7 separate regions of the Homo sapiens genome follow, and all the other regions are linked to region 6. The links are contacts of gene promoters, found by promoter capture Hi-C in blood cells and fetal thymus (Javierre and others, 2016). All regions are on one chromosome and are shown on one strand. Each heading gives the region's core, a stretch centred on a gene start or on the middle of the fragment in contact. The rest is flanking DNA. Distances are from core to core; before and after follow the strand shown.

Evidence for each region. Contacts are between HindIII fragments. The CHiCAGO score rates a contact against its expected background, and 5 or more counts as called.
Region 1: a fragment that was not itself captured here is called in contact with the fragment with the promoter of EMILIN2 in region 6 in 5 of 17 cell types (monocytes, M0 macrophages, M2 macrophages and 2 more); the score reaches 13.9 in monocytes.
Region 2: a fragment that was not itself captured here is called in contact with the fragment with the promoter of EMILIN2 in region 6 in 2 of 17 cell types (monocytes and activated CD4 T cells); the score reaches 5.7 in monocytes.
Region 3: a contact is called between a fragment that was not itself captured here and the fragment with the promoter of EMILIN2 in region 6, in 6 of 17 cell types (monocytes, activated CD4 T cells, non-activated CD4 T cells and 3 more). The highest score is 7.6, in monocytes.
Region 4: a contact is called between a fragment that was not itself captured here and the fragment with the promoter of EMILIN2 in region 6, in 4 of 17 cell types (monocytes, M1 macrophages, M0 macrophages and 1 more). The highest score is 9.4, in monocytes.
Region 5: a contact is called between a fragment that was not itself captured here and the fragment with the promoter of EMILIN2 in region 6, in 6 of 17 cell types (total CD8 T cells, total CD4 T cells, non-activated CD4 T cells and 3 more). The highest score is 7.2, in total CD8 T cells.
Region 7: a fragment that was not itself captured here is called in contact with the fragment with the promoter of EMILIN2 in region 6 in 8 of 17 cell types (total CD8 T cells, activated CD4 T cells, naive CD4 T cells and 5 more); the score reaches 6.7 in total CD8 T cells.

What each region holds. Positions count from the first base shown.
Region 1 is chr18:3,250,159-3,252,988 of GRCh38, forward strand. All of the region lies in intron 1 of MYL12A (myosin light chain 12A), which reads left to right. Among named protein-coding and RNA genes, the nearest start is that of MYL12A, 3.8 kb to the left of the region's middle. The HindIII fragment of the contact is 1,026 bases long and covers 997-2,022 here.
Region 2 is chr18:3,225,922-3,228,972 of GRCh38, forward strand. It overlaps a transcript of MYOM1 not described here. Among named protein-coding and RNA genes, the nearest start is that of MYOM1, 7.5 kb to the left of the region's middle. The HindIII fragment of the contact is 8,579 bases long and covers 1-3,051 here.
Region 3 is chr18:3,181,110-3,183,809 of GRCh38, forward strand. All of the region lies in intron 5 of MYOM1 (myomesin 1), which reads right to left. Among named protein-coding and RNA genes, the nearest start is that of MYOM1, 38 kb to the right of the region's middle. The HindIII fragment of the contact is 3,663 bases long and covers 1-2,700 here.
Region 4 is chr18:3,268,076-3,270,775 of GRCh38, forward strand. All of the region lies in intron 1 of MYL12B (myosin light chain 12B), which reads left to right. Among named protein-coding and RNA genes, the nearest start is that of MYL12-AS1, 7.1 kb to the left of the region's middle. The HindIII fragment of the contact is 4,015 bases long and covers 1-2,700 here.
Region 5 is chr18:3,145,777-3,148,476 of GRCh38, forward strand. All of the region lies in intron 13 of MYOM1 (myomesin 1), which reads right to left. Among named protein-coding and RNA genes, the nearest start is that of MYOM1, 73 kb to the right of the region's middle. The HindIII fragment of the contact is 2,195 bases long and covers 324-2,518 here.
Region 6 is chr18:2,845,559-2,848,258 of GRCh38, forward strand. EMILIN2 (elastin microfibril interfacer 2) reads left to right here and starts at 1,448. Exons shown (of 8, transcript NM_032048.3): 1 at 1,448-1,764; 2 at 2,251-2,373. The coding sequence starts at 1,631. RefSeq lists silencers at 1,666-1,715, 2,336-2,425. The HindIII fragment of the contact is 11,570 bases long and covers 404-2,700 here.
Region 7 is chr18:3,199,881-3,202,592 of GRCh38, forward strand. The region is part of intron 2 of MYOM1 (myomesin 1); the gene reads right to left. Among named protein-coding and RNA genes, the nearest start is that of MYOM1, 19 kb to the right of the region's middle. The HindIII fragment of the contact is 762 bases long and covers 957-1,718 here.

The sequences.
Region 1 (2,830 bases), core at 260-2,759, 400 kb after region 6:
CACATGTATACATATGTAACCTGCACGTTGTGCACATGTACCCTAAAACTTAAAGTATAATAATAAAGCAATTTCAACTTTTTTAGATTAAGGGGTATACCCTAGTTTTCTAAACTTCGATGAGAGTTGTGCATTTGCTGAAGGCTTATTACATGAAGAGTGACAGTCTAAATTGTTTGAAGGAAAGTAAAATGAACAACAAACTAGAATCAGCAAAGAGGACCCTGACAATATCAGAAATGATCTGCTCCTTGAGATCATAGCACTGTTCCTGATTTGACTCCCTCCACCATTATTTATTCTCCCCACACTTTTAGTTTGGTAGGGAAAAAACCCCACAGTTTCTGTATTTTGGAACAGTGACTGTGCAGCCAAACTCCCTATCGCTGAAAGGTTTCTGGTGGAAAATAACTCATAGATCAGAATCCAGCCTCCTTGAAAAAGTAAAGGCCTAGGTAGTAACTTCCTCAACATTACACTGCCAGTTTTTGATAGAATTAACTACCTTAATTTGTTAGAATTGAGACTAACAGCCGAATCTCTTCATTCTAACAATGCTTTGTAGCTTCTAAATGATCCCACACGGGGTTTTTCAAGGTCTTCCTCCTCCCCAATCCCTTAATTACTCAGAAACATCTTTTCTGAACTCACAGCATTTGATAATTATGTACCATGTTAGGAATTATTTTTCATTATTGTCACACGTTTTAAGTTTAGAGTCATACTTCTGGAATGAAAACTATGACTCATTTCATAAGTTGAACCAATCATCTCATTTCTTTATAGTTGCCTCCCCAACTATATTAAGCTCCTTGAAGATAGGACACATGCCTTACATTTCTTAACTCTTAGCTAGTATTCAACATAATTAATATGACGTTTGATACATATTAGTTTAATTAACTTCATAATAAAATTGATAAGATTAAGTATTGAATGTGCTGAAGAAGAGCTCTATATGAGGCCATTGTCAGTGCTGACCCAAAAAAAAAAAAAAGCTTTTTTACTTTAAAAATCTATTTTATAATACATTTACAATTCAAAAAAGTGCGTGATTAAAAGAATAGGAAATATATCAGAATTCAGAAAACATACTACTTTACAACCAAAACTAAGCATTTTGAAAATGTATCTAGAGGACCCTCGTAAATTTAGTTATATGAGATTTTATATAATAGATTAAAAAATCAGATGTGTCAGCCGTTTGACCTCATCAGTTTCTTTGTTCTTAAAATAGCTGACATTTCTGCATCATTAGGGAAAGACAATGTTGTCACACAAAACAGACTATTTTTAAAGATGTGCTTTGGCTTGCAAAGGCGTGACATGCCTAAAATATTAAAGCGATATGGACTGGTAAACGTGTCACTCATTGGGTTTCAACCTCTTGCTCCAAGTCCTTGCGTACATTTAAGAATTGGAGGAATAATATATTCTATATCTCTTTGTATTTTTTAAAGACAGCATTTATAACAGACGAGGAAAGTACATCCTCATGTAGTTTAGATGTGAATGGGATTTACTACCCCCAAAGGTGTTATAGAATGAAAATATGCATTTATGAATAGTTTTAAGTCATGAAAGGCAGCATCCTAAAAGTTGATTAAAGAATTCTAGGAAATTTGGGAACAGCATATATATCATAACTTCTGTGCTATGTAGGATATATCTTTTCAACAATATATTCCAGTTGCCATACGGTGCTGTATTGGATGGGCTGGAATTTGTGACTATCCTTTGTGGAATTTCCTATTAAAATCTGAAAACAGATTTAGCTTTAAAAAATTTGAGGCAGAGCTTTTCTAATCATTCCATAATTGTATTTAGTCTGGACGATATGGTTATAATCAAGGAAAGAATGTAAGAAATTACTTTTTAAACACATCGGAAACACATTCTTAGGGTCACTTTGGAGTGCTGAGATCTAGGTGGTAGTTCATTCTTTGCAGTCCACAGACTTATTTTTAGACCAATGGCATAGTGTTTTGCCAGATCATAGCTAAATGTTGTTTTCAGAACGTAAGCTTTAAAATTGTTATCCTGGTCAGAGTGAAATCAGTAGTGCCTATTTTAGACCTGCTTGGAAGAATATAACTCAATGCAGTGTCTTACTTTTGCTGCTGAGCGGTTTTGCAGACTACCATCTTCCCTGCAACTCTGAAGGATGGTATGGTAGAATTTTATTGTCTGATGACTGAGATTTTTAACTTGAAACAAATTTTTGTAGTTTTTAACAGATTGAGTATTGAAAATTGCCTTTTTATTTTAGGTATTATTAGACATTCTTTTTAATTTTAACTTAAATTTTACCGGGATAAATTTAGGTAAGAGAGCAAAGGTAGTTTCTACGTTTAAGATGTTTTCTAAAACTTTTAAAATTATTTTAAAAGCTTGTGCTCTGATTTCTGTTTAGAGATCTTAGATACTTCCAGTGATTTAGTGTGACTGTAATGCAAGAAACTGGTTTGGATAGAGTGCAATGTCTATAAAAACTATAGATGAATTCCCTTCAGTTTTTTTATACTTTACTATTAGCCTTTCAACAAATAGTTTTTTTGAACTACTTTTGCCTAGTGGTGAGGGTACAATAAAAAATGTTAGTTGAAAGTGAAAGCTTTAACAATATTTGTCAATAGAGATTAGGAGATGAAGACCTGTTCCATCAGTTAGTCATTCTTACTATTCTTCACCTTTCTGTCCACCGTACTATGGAATAGCCAGTTTAGGCTAAGGCTGCAAAGCAGGGACCTACTGAAGATGAATTAGTATCCCTCAGCACCCCTATACTGCTGAAGTATAGAACTTGGGAGTTTCCTAAGTACCTAATTTT
Region 2 (3,051 bases), core at 495-2,994, 380 kb after region 6:
AGTATTGCCCTTTCATCATTCACCAGTGATTGTCAGTAAATGATGTGTTTGAATTTCCAGAAATATGACACAATTTCAAAATCTTGCACTTCGAGAAGAGAGATGGCCCCATCAGTATTTTCACATAATGGCATTCGCAACTAGAACTAGAACCAAACTACTGGAGAATCAAAATTCCATTTCATGAATCTGTTCATTTGTAACCCTAATGCATACATTATGTGGCATTTGCTGAAGACCTAAGGAACATTGTGTTCCATTCATTCGTCAGCATGAGTGGTGCACGGGTTGGAGAGTAGAAGTGCTGCAGTAAGCCAGGCACTGGGATTGAGGACAGAATGTGAGCTGACGCTATGACAAAGGGAGAATGCATTCAGACAGAGCTCACTATGTCCTCTTCTGCTTCAAACCTTCCAATGGCTCCTCACTGCCTATTCTTCCCCAGGTGGCCTCCTCAGCATGGCACGAGGGCATCTTCACCCTATGAGCCTCCATAATTCTCCAGCTCCGCCCCTCTCCATTCCCCTGCCTGCCTCCTGAGTTTCAACCACGGGTAATTCCTTGCAAGCCCTCAAACTCCAGGACTCCAGCACCCCGGTTCCCTCACACCTGGTGCTCCTCTCAGCCCTGCCAACACGCGCACACTTCCTCACTTCCTTCACCCCGCTCCTTCAACACCCCGTGCCATCTCCTTCCGGGAGACTTCCCTACTTCCACTAGGATGGGAAGTTTTTCGTGTGGTATTTACGTGTTTACTTTTCTGTCTCTGCACAATGAGTACTCACTGGTAGGAGCGGGATCTCTATGGCTAGGTGCTCCCAGTACCCAGCAAAGCTCCTGACCCACAACAGGCATTTAATAAAGAATTACTGAATGAGGAAAACTGGGAAATGTGGCAAAGGACAACTCCTCAGGACATAGGGACTCCTTAGAGATGGGAAAAAACAAGGGCTAGGAGTCAGTGTGGCCAGGGATCAGCTGTTCAGCTGCGGGGAGGACAACTGCTGTGAGCCCCTCTTAACCTGCGTGTGAGGCTCAGGAGCTGGTGGGTAGATTCTGGGAGAGGGACAAGCCCCTAAGCCAGAAAGCTGCCTGCACGCATAGTCCAGGCCAGGGAACTGGAGGTGAGTATTAGAAAGCAAGACCCCAAAGCCCATTTTCTAACATTTTTTGTCTCTACCTGTTTTTCTGTCTATTCATAAATAGATATCTGGTATGATAATGACTTCCAAATGATGAGATGCTTTCTCTTTCTTTTGTTTTTTTTTAACTTTCTTGTTTGTATTTTTTTTACTTGATTTTAAGATATAATTAGCATCAAGAACTGTGAAGGTATATACATACAATGGAATATTATTCAGCCTTAAAAAGGAGTGAAATCCTGACACACACTACAACATGGATGAACCCTGAAGACATTATGCAAAGTGAAATAAGCCAGTCACACAAGGACAAATAGTGTATGATTCCACTTATATGAGGTACCTAGAGTAGTCGAGTTTATAGAGAAAGCAGAACAGTGGTTGCCAGGGGCTGGGGAAAGGGGGTAATGAGGAGTATAGCTTAATGGGTAGAGTTTCAACATGGGATGATTAAAAAGCTCTAGAGCAATGTGAGCCGGGCGCGGTGGCTCACACCTGTAATCCCAACACTTTGGGAGACCGAGGTGGGCGAGTCACAAGGTCAGGAGTTTGAGACCAGCCTGGCCAACATGGTGAAACCCTGCTTTTACTAAAAATACAAAAAAATTAGCTGGGTATGGTGGCAGGCACCTGTAATCCCAGCTACTTGGGAGGCTGAGGCAGGAGAATCGCTTGAACCCAGCAGGCGGAGGTTGCAGTGAGCCATCGAGCCACTGCACTCTAGGCCAGGGGGCCGTACGAGACTCCATCTCAAAAAAAAATTAATTAATTTTTAAAAAGCTGTAGAGATGTGTAATGGCGATAGTTATACAACAGTGTAAATGTACTTACTGCCACTGAACTGTATCCCTAAAATGGCTAAAATGGTAAATTTAATGTTGTGTATATTTTACCACAATTTTTTAAAAAAAGGAACGCAGGAGTCAGAGATTTTACCCTACTTGCAAACTAAAAAGTGATCCTGCTACAGTTTCATGAGTGTTGACAGAAGACACAAGAAGACAAAGAGCTTTACTCCTGACAGCAAGAGCAGTGGCCAAGTGTCAGCATATTCTTCACTGGTTTGCCAGCCCCCAATCCCCATGTTCCCAAAGGACAACGTGATGAAGACCAGGTGACACCTGCAGTCACAGTGGGCTGCATTACAGAAGAAGAATCTTGACTTTAGAGCACCTGAATATTTCATCATGAGCATTCAGCATACCTGCCCTTTGCTTCAGAGGGAGATATTCTTGTTACACTGGATAGTAAGCGTGTCTGCCTTTTGCTGTGGCTGGAGACACTTACTCTGTCTTCAAAGGCTGTTCACTATATGAACAGTCCTGCAGAAACAGGCTGGAACAACGGAGAGCCAGATCTTCGCTTGCAACATGTGCCGAAACACAAGAAGCCCGCGGAGAACTGTCTCCCGACAATGACTGTGTGTTACTTTTACAAAAATCATATGGTTTTTTTTTTCCTTTAAAAGTAAGAACCAGAATAAAGATCAGCAGATCTGAGTTTTCAGTTTCAATTCATTTCGAATTTCCTTTTAACAGTTTATAGCAATAAAATTGACACACCATAAATTAATCCATTTTAAGAGTAAAGTTCAGGGAGTTTTAGTCAATTTTTACATTGTGCAACCATCACCAAAATCCAGTTTTAAAACACTTCCATCACCCAGAAAAGTTTCCTCAGGCTTGTCTGCAGTTAATCCTGGGTCCCGCGCGTGACCGAGGCCACCACTGACCTCTGTCTCTACAGTTCAGCTTTTTCTAGAAATTTCACACAAATGGAATCCTACCATATGTAGTCATTTGTGTCTGGTTTCTTTCACTTGGCAAGATGTTTTTGAGTTTCATCTGGATACTGGATGCACCAGTATTGCACTTGGTTCTCACCAATGTCCTACCCTGTCCGCAGTTGT
Region 3 (2,700 bases), core at 108-2,607, 340 kb after region 6:
AGACATGGGCTTTCACCATGTTGGCCAGGCTGGTCTCAAACTCCTGACCTCAGGTGATCTGCCTGCTTCGGCCCCCAAAGTGCTGGGATTACAGGCATGAACCACCACGCCCGGCCAAAGATGATCTTTAATATACTGAATCTCACCACAAATGAGATTGCTGCTTATAATCCAACCTGTTTTGAGTAAATCACTCTAGACCCACTTTAAAAACTATCTGAGAGAGATTGAGAGAGAGAGAGAGATCCCATTGGGATAGATTTTGGAATTAAGTAAATAAGAAAAATCCAAAGTAAAACTCCAAATCCTTATGTTGGAAAACTGTTGTAAATTGTAAATAATTTGTGTTAACCATTTTAAATATAAGCTGTTTTTTCTATGATAATATGGTAGTAACTGCTAAATTTGAATATGTGATTAATAATTCTAATCTTGAAAATAAACTCAATGCATGATTCTATTATGAAATTTACAAACCCTCATAATTTGTGAGAATAGAAGAGTTTTCTGAATCTCTGCCTTTGTAACTATTTTATTCCTAGGTTTTGAATTATTATAATGGGCTTAATGACACATTTCTTTAAGTATCTATTTGACAACGACCTTTGGGTGAAACTGAATAATTTTTTTTTTTTTTTTTTTTGAGACAGGGTCTTGCTCTGTCCCCCAGGCTGTAGCGCAGTGGTGCGATCTCACTCACTGCAACTTCCACCTCCCAGATTCAAGCAATTCTCCTGCCTCAGCCTCCTGTGTAGCTGGTACTACAGGTTCCTGCCACCACACCCGGCTAATTTTTGTACTTTTAGTACAGATGGAGTTTCACCATGTTGGCCAGGCTGGTCTCGAACTCTGGACCTCAGGTAATCCGCCCGACTCGGCCTCCTAAAGAGCTGGGATTACAGGCGTGAGCCCTCGCGCCTGGCTGAAACTGAAGAATTTTAAACATGTATTATAAATGCTTTGCTTGAGGATCTAGTCCAGTGTCCAACATATAGATATGAAAACATGAGTGCCGAGTGAGTGAATGACAGGTACACACTGATACCAACACATTGCTCCAATGAGTTTTCCTGATCTTCCTGCAGGCTACAATCAAGATTTCCATGGACAAATTCAATCTAGGCTTCAGGCCAGAAACCCAAATGAATCCTGCTCTTTAAAAAGTATGCCTGTCATGAGGTGAGGGGAGGGGGAGGGATAGCATTGGGAGATATACCTAATGTAAATGACGAGTTGATGGGTGCAGTACACCAACATGGCACATGTATACATATGTAACAAACCTGCACGTTGTGCACATGTACCCTAGAACTTAAAGTATTATAATAATAATAAAAAGTATACAATTAACACTATTCTCTCCTTTTAAAGAAAACTTTTTCCTTCTCCACTATTTCACATAATGTTTAAAATCTGACTAGGTAATACGTTTACATGGTTCAAGAACCAGAAAGAACTAAGGGTGCACAGTGAACCCTTCCTGGTAACTTCCTAGAACTTTTGTCCCTTTGACAAGGCTCCCCCTCAGGGTCAATAGCTTTTCTTGGGTTCTTCCATATCCTTCCAGAATTTCATTATGCAAATAAAACAAAAACAAACATAAATGCTTTTTTCTTCCCCCTTTAAACAGAAAGACTCTTATTATACAAGTTATTACATAAATGTACCCTATTAAATTTTAAAACTTTAATTTTTTTCACTACATATGTATTTTCCCTTCTATGTCGACAGAGTCCTCCTGCAGGATGGCCAGCTTCACGGTAGGGGTGCAGCAGCATCCTCTGCAACTAACTTTTCTTTCTTCTTTTTTTTTTTTTTTTTTTTTTTTTTTTTGAGACAGAGTTTCGCTCTTGTTGCCCAGGCTGCCTGGAGTGCAGTGGCGTGATCTCAGCTCACCGCAACCTCCGCCTTCCGCGTTCCATCGATTCTCCTGCCTCAGCCTCCCCAGTAGCTGGGATTACAGGCATGCTCCACCACACCCGGCTAATTTTGTATTTTTAGTAGAGACAGGGTCTCTCCATGTTGGTTAGGCTGGTCTCGGACTCCCGACCTCAGGTCATCCGCCCGACTCGGCCTCCCAAAGTGCTGGGATTACAGGCGTGGGCCACCACGCCCGGCCTGTAACTAACTTTTCTACCGAGGCCAGTGCTTAGACAGGCTCCCTGCTGCTGTCAGAGCGAGTTGGGAATAGGACGGTACTGCATCCTGTCTCTGCACCTGACTTTAATGAGGGATGTGTGTGCCCTTATTCAGTGCTCTCTGGTAACCTCTAGGTTCCACATGAATAGATTTGGTTAGTAATGTGGGATTGGTTGGAGAGCGGCTGCTGAGTGCTTGTATCATTTGTTAGGCCTCAGGAACTCCCATGAGTGAAGGTGTCCAGTGGAAACTGGTTGGTTGGTGTCCAGCCAAACCCTCTTTGGAAAGGGCTCTGCCGGAGACAGGCCCGCCACACGTGCCTTTGAAAGATGTGGCTAAGGACATAACTGCTATGAGTGGAGGCAGTGTGATTATATGAAGCATCATCACAAATTTACTCCTTTAATAAACCTGCTGATATTCAGGAAGGGCATTCTCAATATTCCCTTTGTACTTCTCCTCAGTGTCAGGCCCAGGAAGCTGCAATTGGATACCAAAAAGGTATAAATGCCAGCAATGTTATCACCAACAATCTTGGTTGTTGCTTGGGCTGCGGGTTCC
Region 4 (2,700 bases), core at 46-2,545, 420 kb after region 6:
ATGGAGGGCTAACTGTATGGGTTGGGTACTATCCCTGGTTTCAGGCATCCACTGGGGTCTTGGAATATATCCCCCTCAGATAAGGAGGGACTGCTGTATCAATTCCTACATGCCTGCCTTTGATGTAACCTCTGAGTACTACTTATATCCTGTAGTTCACTTTGTATTAGAAATTTATAGCAATATCAGAGTAACAGTGTTGCAGAGGAAGGAAGAAGTGTTTTTACTGCTATTGAGGGTTATTACATTCATTTTGTGCTGTGTTCTGTATGGCTATTTTCTGTCTGTAAGGGTTGGATTAGTTTTTTGTGTTTTTGTTTGTTGTTGTTTTTGAATGCTTCTTGGTTAAACATTAATAAATTGGACAGTCCTAGATCAAAGTTTCAAAGGAAAGCCATAACTGATAGTTGCCACCTGACTAAACCCAACCAGGGCTACTACACTGCACAGTTCCAGGGAGTGCCACTCACATTTCATTTACTCACTGCAACTCTATTCTGTACCTTGGTTTTTCTGGTGTAGATTGACTTGATTTGAAAACTCAGTTTGTCTAGGATTTGAATTTAGAGGATTGTAGGTGCTCAGAAATCAGTGTTGAATTATATTGGTGGCATTGCAAGTTTTAAAAAATTTTGTGCTGAACTCAAAATAATTAGAAGAGTATTTAGTAGGAAGTAGAAAATATACAAGGAGAAACAACCTGTAACAAATGGGATTTGAATCCTAGCTCTGCCACTAGGTGACCTTGGGCAAGATTATTTAATATCTTTGACCTTCAGTTTCTTCATTTGGCAGGTGGGCATGTTTCATTTAATGTACATAATGTTTCTAGCACATGAGTCACTTAATAAATGGTAGTAGCTGTAAGTTGAGTAGATCTTTAATTCTCTCTCTGTTCCTAAGGCAGAGAAGTAGATCAGGGCAACTGGGGCTGGAAAAATAGCAGGAACAAAGATATACAAGATAAGATGTGGCATGGTACCTTGGGGACATTTGCAGTTTGGTGTTGCTAAAGGAAAAGTACAAAGCAGGGAATGGCTAGAGAGGAGGCTGGAAAGGTCATTCTAGAGTAGGGAAAGGAAGACTCATGCACCATGTTTAGGAACTTGGTACTTTATCCTTTAGAAAGTGGAGAGCCAAAGAAGATTTTAAAAAGTGGAATGATGAGGTCATATTCATGTTTTAGACAGCCCTGCCTAGAAAACTAAGGGTAGTTTTGAGAGAGCCGAGAGGCAAGGGGATAGTGAAGAGGCCATAGAGATATTTTACACAAGAGATAATGAGGATCCAGTTTAGGGTGATGACAGAGGAATGAGGAAGATGAGCAACTCTGAGAAATATTTCTCAGAGGCAGGGCTTGGTTCATCAGGGAGAGGGATTGGGGAGGGTGACTCCTAGGTTTCTGGCTGCTGGGTAGATGATTGGAAACAAAGATGGTAAAGTTCAGGAGGGGAGAGATAATTGAGTTTTCAGCATGTTGATTATGAGTGTCTGTGGCATATCCAGATGGGTGCCTTTCACAGGCATTTGGATGTTTGAGTCCAAGGCTCCAAGGAAAGGTCAGGCCTGGAGGTTCGGATTTAGGAGGTGCAGGCATTGTCATAACAGTGAAAGTTGATGAGATCATCCAAGGAATGAAGACTGAAAAGAACTTTAAACCATGTGCTGCTAGAATACTGGGAAACATGAATATTTAAACGGAGATAAACATCTAAGAGGAAAATGGAGGAGGAAATCTTAGAAATAGGAGAACTGAGCTAGAGTAAGTCAAATACACCATTTTACATAATCAGTCTTTCCAATATAATGCTTAGCAGTCTTCCTGATTAGAGCGTAAGTTCTTCAAGGTTGGGACCCTTTCCACCTGGGAAAGTTCATTTCTACTGTTATGGAGCACCAGGCTAACAGTGGCTGTCTCTCCAAAGAAAAGAGGGATAAAATAGTGTGATGCAGTAGACTGATCCAAGAAGATTTAGACCAGATTTGGCAATTAAAGCAGTTGCAGTAGAGAACAGAAAGCCAGATTGTGGTGGGTTGAAAAGTGAGTGGGAAGTGAGAAGGTGGAGGAAGCCAAGATACTTATTTCAGAAGGGAAGGAGAGAGGGTGGTAATTTCTTTGGGGGCCAGAGTTCCCTTCAGATTGATTATTTTGATGCAACTTTGCCTCACTTTTCAGCTGATACTGTATGTGTAGTTTTTATAGGTACCATATACGTATACAAATGTACCACTGTTTTTAAATGAAGTATGAAAAAAATTTAAAATATAGTATTACTACATTGAGCCTATATCTGCTCTAACATATTTTGATTGGGACCAGTTAGTGAATTGTTTTTTGTTCTCTTCCATCAACTTGCCTTCTGTTTCCTTCTCTTGGGTGTCACCATCAGATGGTGATGGCTCTTCTAGTTATCAGGCTAACTAACTCCCTATTCTTTCTCACAGGCATTTCCCCTAATAAAATCCTTGGGTGTTTCATTCTGTCTTGGTATCAGCTTCTTAGAGAACTCGGACTAAACTTCAAAAATGTTTAAATATAGTATATTTTTGGGTTAACTGTAGAAGTAGCATGATACAATTGACTGATTCTGATTTGATTTGATTTGATTTTTTGAGACAGTGTCTCGTTTTGTCACCCAGGCTGAGGTTAGGGGCACCATTACGGTTCACCAGCCTCGACCTCCCAGGCTCAAATGATCC
Region 5 (2,700 bases), core at 171-2,670, 300 kb after region 6:
TAAGAACAGAAATAAATAAAACTGGAAACAGAAGAAAAATATAGAAAATCAATGAAACCAAAAGCTGTTTCTTTGGGAACATCAATAAAGTTGATAAACTTCTAGTCAGGTCAGGACAAAGGAAGTAAAACACGAATATTAGGAATGAGAGAGGTGACACCACTACAGATTCTGCAGGTATTAAAAGGATAATAAGAAAATATGAACAACTTTATGAATGAAAAAGTTTCTTGAAAGATGAAAACTATTAAATTTTACTCAAGAAAAAGTAAATAACCTGAATAGTCCTAAATTTATTTTAAAAATTGAATTTGCAGTATAAAAGCTTCCCACAACAAAACAAAACAAACAAACCAAAAAACAAACCTCCAGGCCTAGATGGCTCTGCTGGTAAATTATACTGAATGTTTAATTAAAAAAAATAATAAAAGTTAACACAAGCTCTTTCAAAAAATTAAAATAATGGTAATACTTTCCACTCAGTACCCCAATACCAAAACCAAACCAAGACTTTACTGGGAAAAACCACAGACCAATATCTTTTATGAATATAGACACAAAAATTCCTTTAAAAATTTTTAGCAAATAAACTCCAGCAATGTATAAAAAGGATAACACAGCATAACATAGTGACATTCAACCCAGGACTGTGAGGTTTAGTTTGCGTTATTTATTTTATTTCGGTTTAATAATCTAAAATTAATCAATGTAATTCAACATGTTAATGGAAAAATAAAAATCATACGATCGTCTCAATAGATACAGGAAAAGCATTTGACAAAATCCAACACTTTTTCCTAATATAAACTCTCAGAAAACCAGGAGTAGAAGAAATTTTCCTCAACTTGATAAAGGATAGCTATACAAAACCTACACTTAATGTTAGACTTAATGGTGAAAGACTGAATGCTTTCCCCCTGACATCAGGAAAAGGCAAAGATGACCAGTCTACCACTTCTATTCAACATTGTACTAAAGGTTCTAGATGGAGCAATAAGGAAAGAAAAAGAAATAAAAGGTATCCAGATTGAAAAGGAAGAAGTTAATTTATCTTTACTTATAGATGGCATAATCCTGTAATAGAAAATCCATAATAAATTTCATAAAAAACCCTAATGTTTGTGAGAATTAATAAATTAGTTCAGCAAGGATGCAGGACACAAAATCAATATACAAAAATCAATTGTGTTTCTTTATACTAGCATAAAAACAAATTAAAATAAAAAACAATACCATTTACAGCATCATCAGAAATATTATATATAAATATTATATATTATATATAAATATATATCTTATATATAAATATTATACATTATAGATAAATATATATATTTATATATAAATATTATATATTATAGATAAATATATATATTATATAGAAATATATATATATAAAAAGTCAGATACTCTAACTTTTTGTCAGAGTTTGTGCAAAAACAGAAAGGCAGTAAAGAAGGTAACTTATTTTCAATTCAAACAAATCTTATTTTGATTGGAATTGATAAAAGAGGAGCAAACGAATGTATGAGATTATATCTATAAAAATGTGCAGGACCTGCTCACTAAAACTACTACTAAGGTGAGAGAAATGAAAACAAAGCTAAATGAATGGAGATACAGGCTATGTTCATAAATCAAAGGACTCAATGCTGTTCGGCTGAAATCCCAGCATGTTTTTTGTAGAAGTTGATAAGCTGATTTTAAAATTTTTATAGAAATGTAAAGACAGAATAGCTGAAACAACTTTGGGGGGGAAAAACCCAACACAAGATTAGAAGACTTATACTGATTTGAAGATGCTAAAATTTATATATGAAAAAATGAAGCTCAGAAAAGCTATAGTAATAAAGACAGTATGGTATTGATGGAAGGGGAAAAAAATTGACCAATAGAGATTCCAGAAATTGATCCACACATATGTAATCAATTGAATTTGACAATGGTGCCAATACAAATTCGTTGGGTAAAGAACAATCTTTTCAATAGATATTGCTGAAATAATTTAATAGCCATATGCAAGTATGAACGATAGTAATAATTGAGGCCCTTACTTCTTGTAATGTAGAAAAAATTAATTTTAAATGCATCACAGAGTGAAAAGTAAAAACTAATGCTATAACATTTCCAGGGGGAAAAAAACAGGAAAAATACCTGGATTTGACAAAGATGCCCAATGTCACAAAAACTGGCAAATAAACACATGAAAAGATGCTCGACATTATGAGTAAAATGCAAATCAAAGCCACAAAGAAATACCACTATGAACCCACTAGAATGGCTAAAATTGAAAAGACTGGCCACACTAAGTGCTAGTGACAATGCGGGAGCAAGTGGAACTCTCACGTAGGGCTGGAGGGGAAGGGAACGTGGTACAATCATTTCAGAAAACAGCTGGCAGTTCCTTTAAAAATTAAGCATACACCTACCACAGAACACATCCATTCAACTCCTAGGTATTTACACAAGACATAAATGAAAGCATATGTCCACAGAAACAGTTAAGAATGTTCATAGAAGCTTTCAACAGTGAATGGATAAATACTTTGGAACGAATTGATACACACACCAACGTAGATAAGTCTCAAAATAATTATGCTGAGTAAAGAAAAACAGACAAAAATGAACATGATTCAACTGATCTACAATTGTGGACAATGTAAACTACAGTGGCAGAAAGCAGATCAGTGATGGCTGGAG
Region 6 (2,700 bases), core at 198-2,697:
AAGGTCCAACAACACCATCAAAGAATATTAGAAACAAAATAGACCAATGGCTTCATTTAGTAAAGTAGGAACATAGCAAACGTTTTTATTTTTTATTTTTTGCGACAGATTTTCACTCTTTTTGCCCAGGCTGGAGTGCAGTGGTGAGATCCCGGCTCACTGCAACCTCCATCTCTCTGGTTCAAGCGATTCTCCTGCCTCAGCCTCCCAAGTAGCTGGGATTACAGGCATGTGCCACCGTGCCCGGCAAATTTTTTTTTTTTTTTTGTACTTTTAGTAGAGACGGGGTTTCTCCATGTTGGTCAGGCTGGTCTTGAACTCCCGACGTCAGGTGATCCACCCGCCTCGACCTCCCAAAGTGCTGGGATTACAGGCGTGAGCCACCCCGCCTGGCCCATAGCAAAGCTTTATTCACTTAACGAGTCATGGCCAACAGCGTCTGGTTAGCTCACAGAGGCCACAGTTTTATCTGTGGAGTCTGGTAACCACGCCACTCACGACCCTGTACATTGATTAGATGCAGCAGGTCATCTCAAACACACAGCTCTCTCCAACACCCCTTAGAATACAACACTTGGGTGGTGATTTTACTTAACATTCTGGTACTTCATCCCAAAAAGACATCGGTAGAGATTAGTGTAACTCAACAACAGGCAGAAAACATACAAGAAAGTTTAAGACGGATGTCTAGCAGTGCCTGAACTGTTAAGAAGCAAACGTGAGTAAATGCCTTAGTTTCAATAGAAAAAGAAAGTTCACAGTGGGACCTCAGAAGCAGAGGCTGTGAGATCACCTTTCAAGAATTGGAGGAGAATTGCAGTAAGTGATAGAGCCGGACGCTGAGCTGCAGCAGCCTCTGGGAATTGGCGGGGCTGTGGCTTGTCCTGTCCTGCCGCCCCCCGCGTGGCCTCGGAAACTGTCAGATGGTGCCTAAGGCAGAGTTGGGCAAAGAAAGAACCAGCGTTCGTTTCCTCCTGGACTCTCTAGGTCCATGGAGCTGGTGGGGGAACGGCCCTGTCTTGCCCGAGGAGGAAATTCGAGTCGAGCCCCCACTCCTCTCCCCGCGGGACTGATAAACATGTCCCTCATTCGCCCCGGGAGGCTGGCACCCAGGCACGACGCGAGGACGGCCAGACTCGCCGACGGCGGCCGCGTCCCGGGGGGCCGGGAGCGAGCCTGTCGGAAGGTGGGAGGCGGAGTCGCTCGGCATCTGGGAAGAGACCAAAGGAATGAGTCATTGGAAATGCTGTAACGTAGACCCTTATCCCAAACCCTTTCGCCCCTCCACCCCGAGCCCCCTGCCGAGAAGCGAAGGGACTGGAGACGGGGAGACTTGGTGGGGGGAGAGTCACGTTTCGGAGAGGGAAGTGAAATAAAGAGGGCGGCACCCGGGGGGACCTGTGCGTCATTGAGGGACCGGGGAGAAGCGCAGGGCGCACGGGGCTGCAGAAGGAGAAGTAGGAACGAGAAGCCGGAGGGGGCGGCCGCGGAGCACTGGTTGGAGCGCCGCGAAGCGCCCGAGCCTCTTGCCTTCGCGGGCGGCGCCCTGGCCGCCGGCAGCCTTGTGGCCGGTGCCCCGATCCGCCGCGCTCCGGACCCGGGCAGGCGGGGCGCGCCCGCTGCGCGCGGGATGTGGCAGCCCAGACGGCCCTGGCCCCGCGTGCCCTGGCGCTGGGCGCTGGCGCTGCTGGCCCTGGTTGGCGCGGGGCTGTGCCACGCCGGCCCGCAGCCCGGGTATCCCGCGCGGCCCAGCGCCAGGAACAAGTAAGTGCGCGCCCCTTGGCTGGCCCCAAACCGCCTACCCCTCCCCGGCCCCCAGTTGAGCCCCAGAGCTGCCCTGCCAAAGACGACGAGCGGCAGCCGGGGGCCTCCCTTGGACTTCCCCGGGCGGCTCCCTCTGCGGGGGACCGCGCGCTCCGCAGCCGGCGCCTCAGGCAGAGCTGACTCCGGGGGCGTGGGCGCAGAGAGCGTCCCGCAGACCCGGGCGATCCGAAAACGACTCCCAGGAATTCCATGAGCCCCTGGGACCATGGGTGCTTTTCTTTCCCGTCTTGGTCGGGTCCAGGCGCGCGCTCTCCAGAGGCGCACCCGGGCACCCTCCGGCGTCTGCTCGGTGAAGCTCCCGCCTCCGCAGAGGGCGACGGGCCCCCCCGACCCTCGCTCGGTCTGGTGCCGCAGTCCCCTCTCCCCTGGCCTCATTGTTCTCCGGGTTTACCCCGTGCCCCTCTCCCTCTCTCTCCTGCACCCCAGGAACTGGTGCGCCTACATCGTGAACAAGAATGTGAGCTGCTCCGTGCTGGAGGGAAGTGAGAGTTTTATTCAGGCTCAGTACAACTGTGCCTGGAACCAGATGCCCTGTCCGTCGGCGCTGGTGTAAGTCCTGGAGCCGGGGAGCGGGCGGGGCGCGCCCGGGCCGGGGCGGTGGGGGTGGGGTGGGGTTGCTGCGCTGGGCTCCAGTCCCTCCGGTAAATCCCTTCCAGATCCGGTGAAAAGCCCGCAGCGGAAAAGCGCTCCGAGCGCTCGCGGGGCACCGGCCACGCTGGGCTATTTAGGGAGTGGGTGCTGCCCGAGTGAGTGGGGAGGATGCGCGCGCCTCGGGAGTGTGGGGTCGCGGGGGCGTAGGAGAGGATGAACAAAGCTCCCACTCCCACTTCTGTTTTCTCCCTTTCAATGTTTGTTTGTAACATAAGGCAGCTGAAT
Region 7 (2,712 bases), core at 88-2,587, 350 kb after region 6:
AACACACACTCAGATCTACTGCCAGAGGGTGGAAGATTTACTGTCTTGAGCTGTTTGGGCACAATGTCTGACCACCATTAATCTATGCAAACACAGTGTGATTCCTAGGAATTCCGGCTTAAAAATGAGAACAAGAATTTAAAAAACAAAACAAAGCTGAGCAGAGACACCTGCAGCCACACAGCAGTTAAGGAGATTCTACAAGCATGTCCAGCCAAATTATTATTAAACAAAACTGAGATCACACCACTGCACTCCAGACTGGGCAACAGAGTGAGACTCCAGCTGAAAACAAAAACAAAAACAAAAACAAAAAAACCCAAAAAACAAAAAACAAAACCAAAATACAGCAACAACACACTCTGAGGAAAATTCAGAATTCAGAATTGTAACAATATATTATCTGACATGTCCCATTTTTAACAACAATAAAAGTTATGAGACATGCCAAGAAATAGGAAAATGTAACCCACACCAATGGGAAAATAGTAGTAAGCAAAAATTGTCTCTGGGTTGTCCTTGATGTTGGGTTTAGCAGACAAAGACTTCAAAGCAGCAATTATAAATATGTTCAAAAACTGAAGGAAACCATGTTTAAAGAGTTAAAGGAATGTATTACAACAGTGACTCAACAAATAGAGAATGTCAACAAAGAAATATAAATTATAAAATAAAATCAAAGGACACTCTGGAGTTAAAAAGTACGATAACAAATGAAAATTTCTTAGAGGGACTCAACAGCAGATGTTAGATAAGGGAAGAAATAATCAATAAAGTTGAAAATAGAAATTACCCATTCTAAAGCAAAGAGAGATAAAAGAATAAAGAAAAATTAAAAGAGCCTCAGAAACGTGTGAGACAATGTCAAACATACTAACATATGAGTAATGGCAGTGCCAGAAAGGGAAGAGAGAGAGAAAGGGCAGGAAAATATATTTGAAGAAATAATAGACTAAAGCTTCCAAAATTTGATGAAAATATTAATCTATGGATCCAAGATGCTCAAAAAACCCAAGTAGAATAACACAGAAAAAGATACTTAGACCTGGAAATATCGAAGTCAAACTGTTGAAAGTCAAAGCCAGAGAGAAACCTTGAAAGCATCAAGAGTAAAATGATTCTTTACACACAGGGGAACAATAATACTGTTAATGGTAGACTTCTCATCAGGAAAAATGGCACCGACATGACATATTTAAGTGCTGAAAAACAATGTTAATCAAGAATTCTATATCTGGCCGGGCGCAGTGGCTCATGCCTGTAATCCTAGCACTTTGGGAGGCTGAAGGGGGTGCATCACTTGAGGTCAGGAGTTTGAGACCAGCCTGTCCAACATGGTGGAACCCTGCCTCTACTAAAAATACAAAAATTAGCCGGGCATGGTGGTGCACTCCTGTAATCCCAGCTACTCAGGAGGCTGAGGCAGGAGAATTGCTTGAACCTGGGAGGCAGAGCTTGCAGTGAGCCAAGATCGTGCCACACTGCACTCCAGCCCTGGCGACAGAGTGAGACTCCGTCTCAAAAAAAAAAAGAAAAAAAGACTAAAGGTAATTTAATTGTAATTTAAACCCACACGAAAAGATGGAGAACAACCAGACAGTAAATAATTGGGTAAATACAAAAGACAGTGTGTGTACATACACACATACACACATGTACATGCACATATATGTATATAAGTTTATACACACATATGTATATAAATTTATACGTATATAAGCTTATACACATATATGTATGTAAATTTTTACATATATATTCTATTAAATTCTTTTTTTTTTTTTTGAGACAGAGTCTTGCTCTGTCACCCAGGCTGGAGTGCAATGGCGTGGTCATAACTATAACCTCGATCTCCCGGGCTCAAGCCATCCTCCCACCTCAGCCTCTCAAGTAGTTGGGACTACAGGCACACATCACCATGCCCAGCTAATTTCTGTATTTTTTGTAGAACTGGGATTTCACCATGCTGCCCAGGCTGGTCTCAAACTCTTGAGCTCAAGTGAGTCACCCACCTCGGCCTCTGAAAGTGCTGGAATTGCACATGTAAGCCACTGCACCCAGGCTTCTCTTAAATTCTTTAAAAGATATAATATTGTATAAAATACTTATTGCATTGTGTTGTTGGGTTTACAACATTCATAGTTGTAATATACTTGACAACAGTGCAAAGGAGGGAGAAGGAAATGAAGCTATATTAGAGGAAAGTTTCTATGTTTACTGGTATTCAGTGAGTATATATTATCTGAAGTAGATAGAAATAAGTTAATATGTATATTGTAATTCCTAAGGCAATCCCTAGGAAAATAGCTCAAAGAATATAGTCAAGAAACAAAAGAATTAAAACAATACACTAAAAAGGTCCATTTAATACAAAATAAGGCAATAAAGGAGTAATTAAAGAGATAATGAGATATACTTTAAAAAGTGGCAGACATAAATACAACCATATCAGTAATTTTAGCAAACGTAAATGGAATAAAAAACTCCAAGGAACAGGCAGAGGCTGTCAGACTGAATGGAAAAATACAGATTCAACTAATCCACTTATATGCTGCCACAAGAGGCACACCCTAAATTTAAAGACACATTTGTTAGTAAAAGGATAAAAAATATATACCATGCAAATGGTAAGCTATAGTAATATAAAACATAATATACTTTACATCAAGAAATATTATTAGAGACAAAGAGGAATATTTCATATGATAAAAT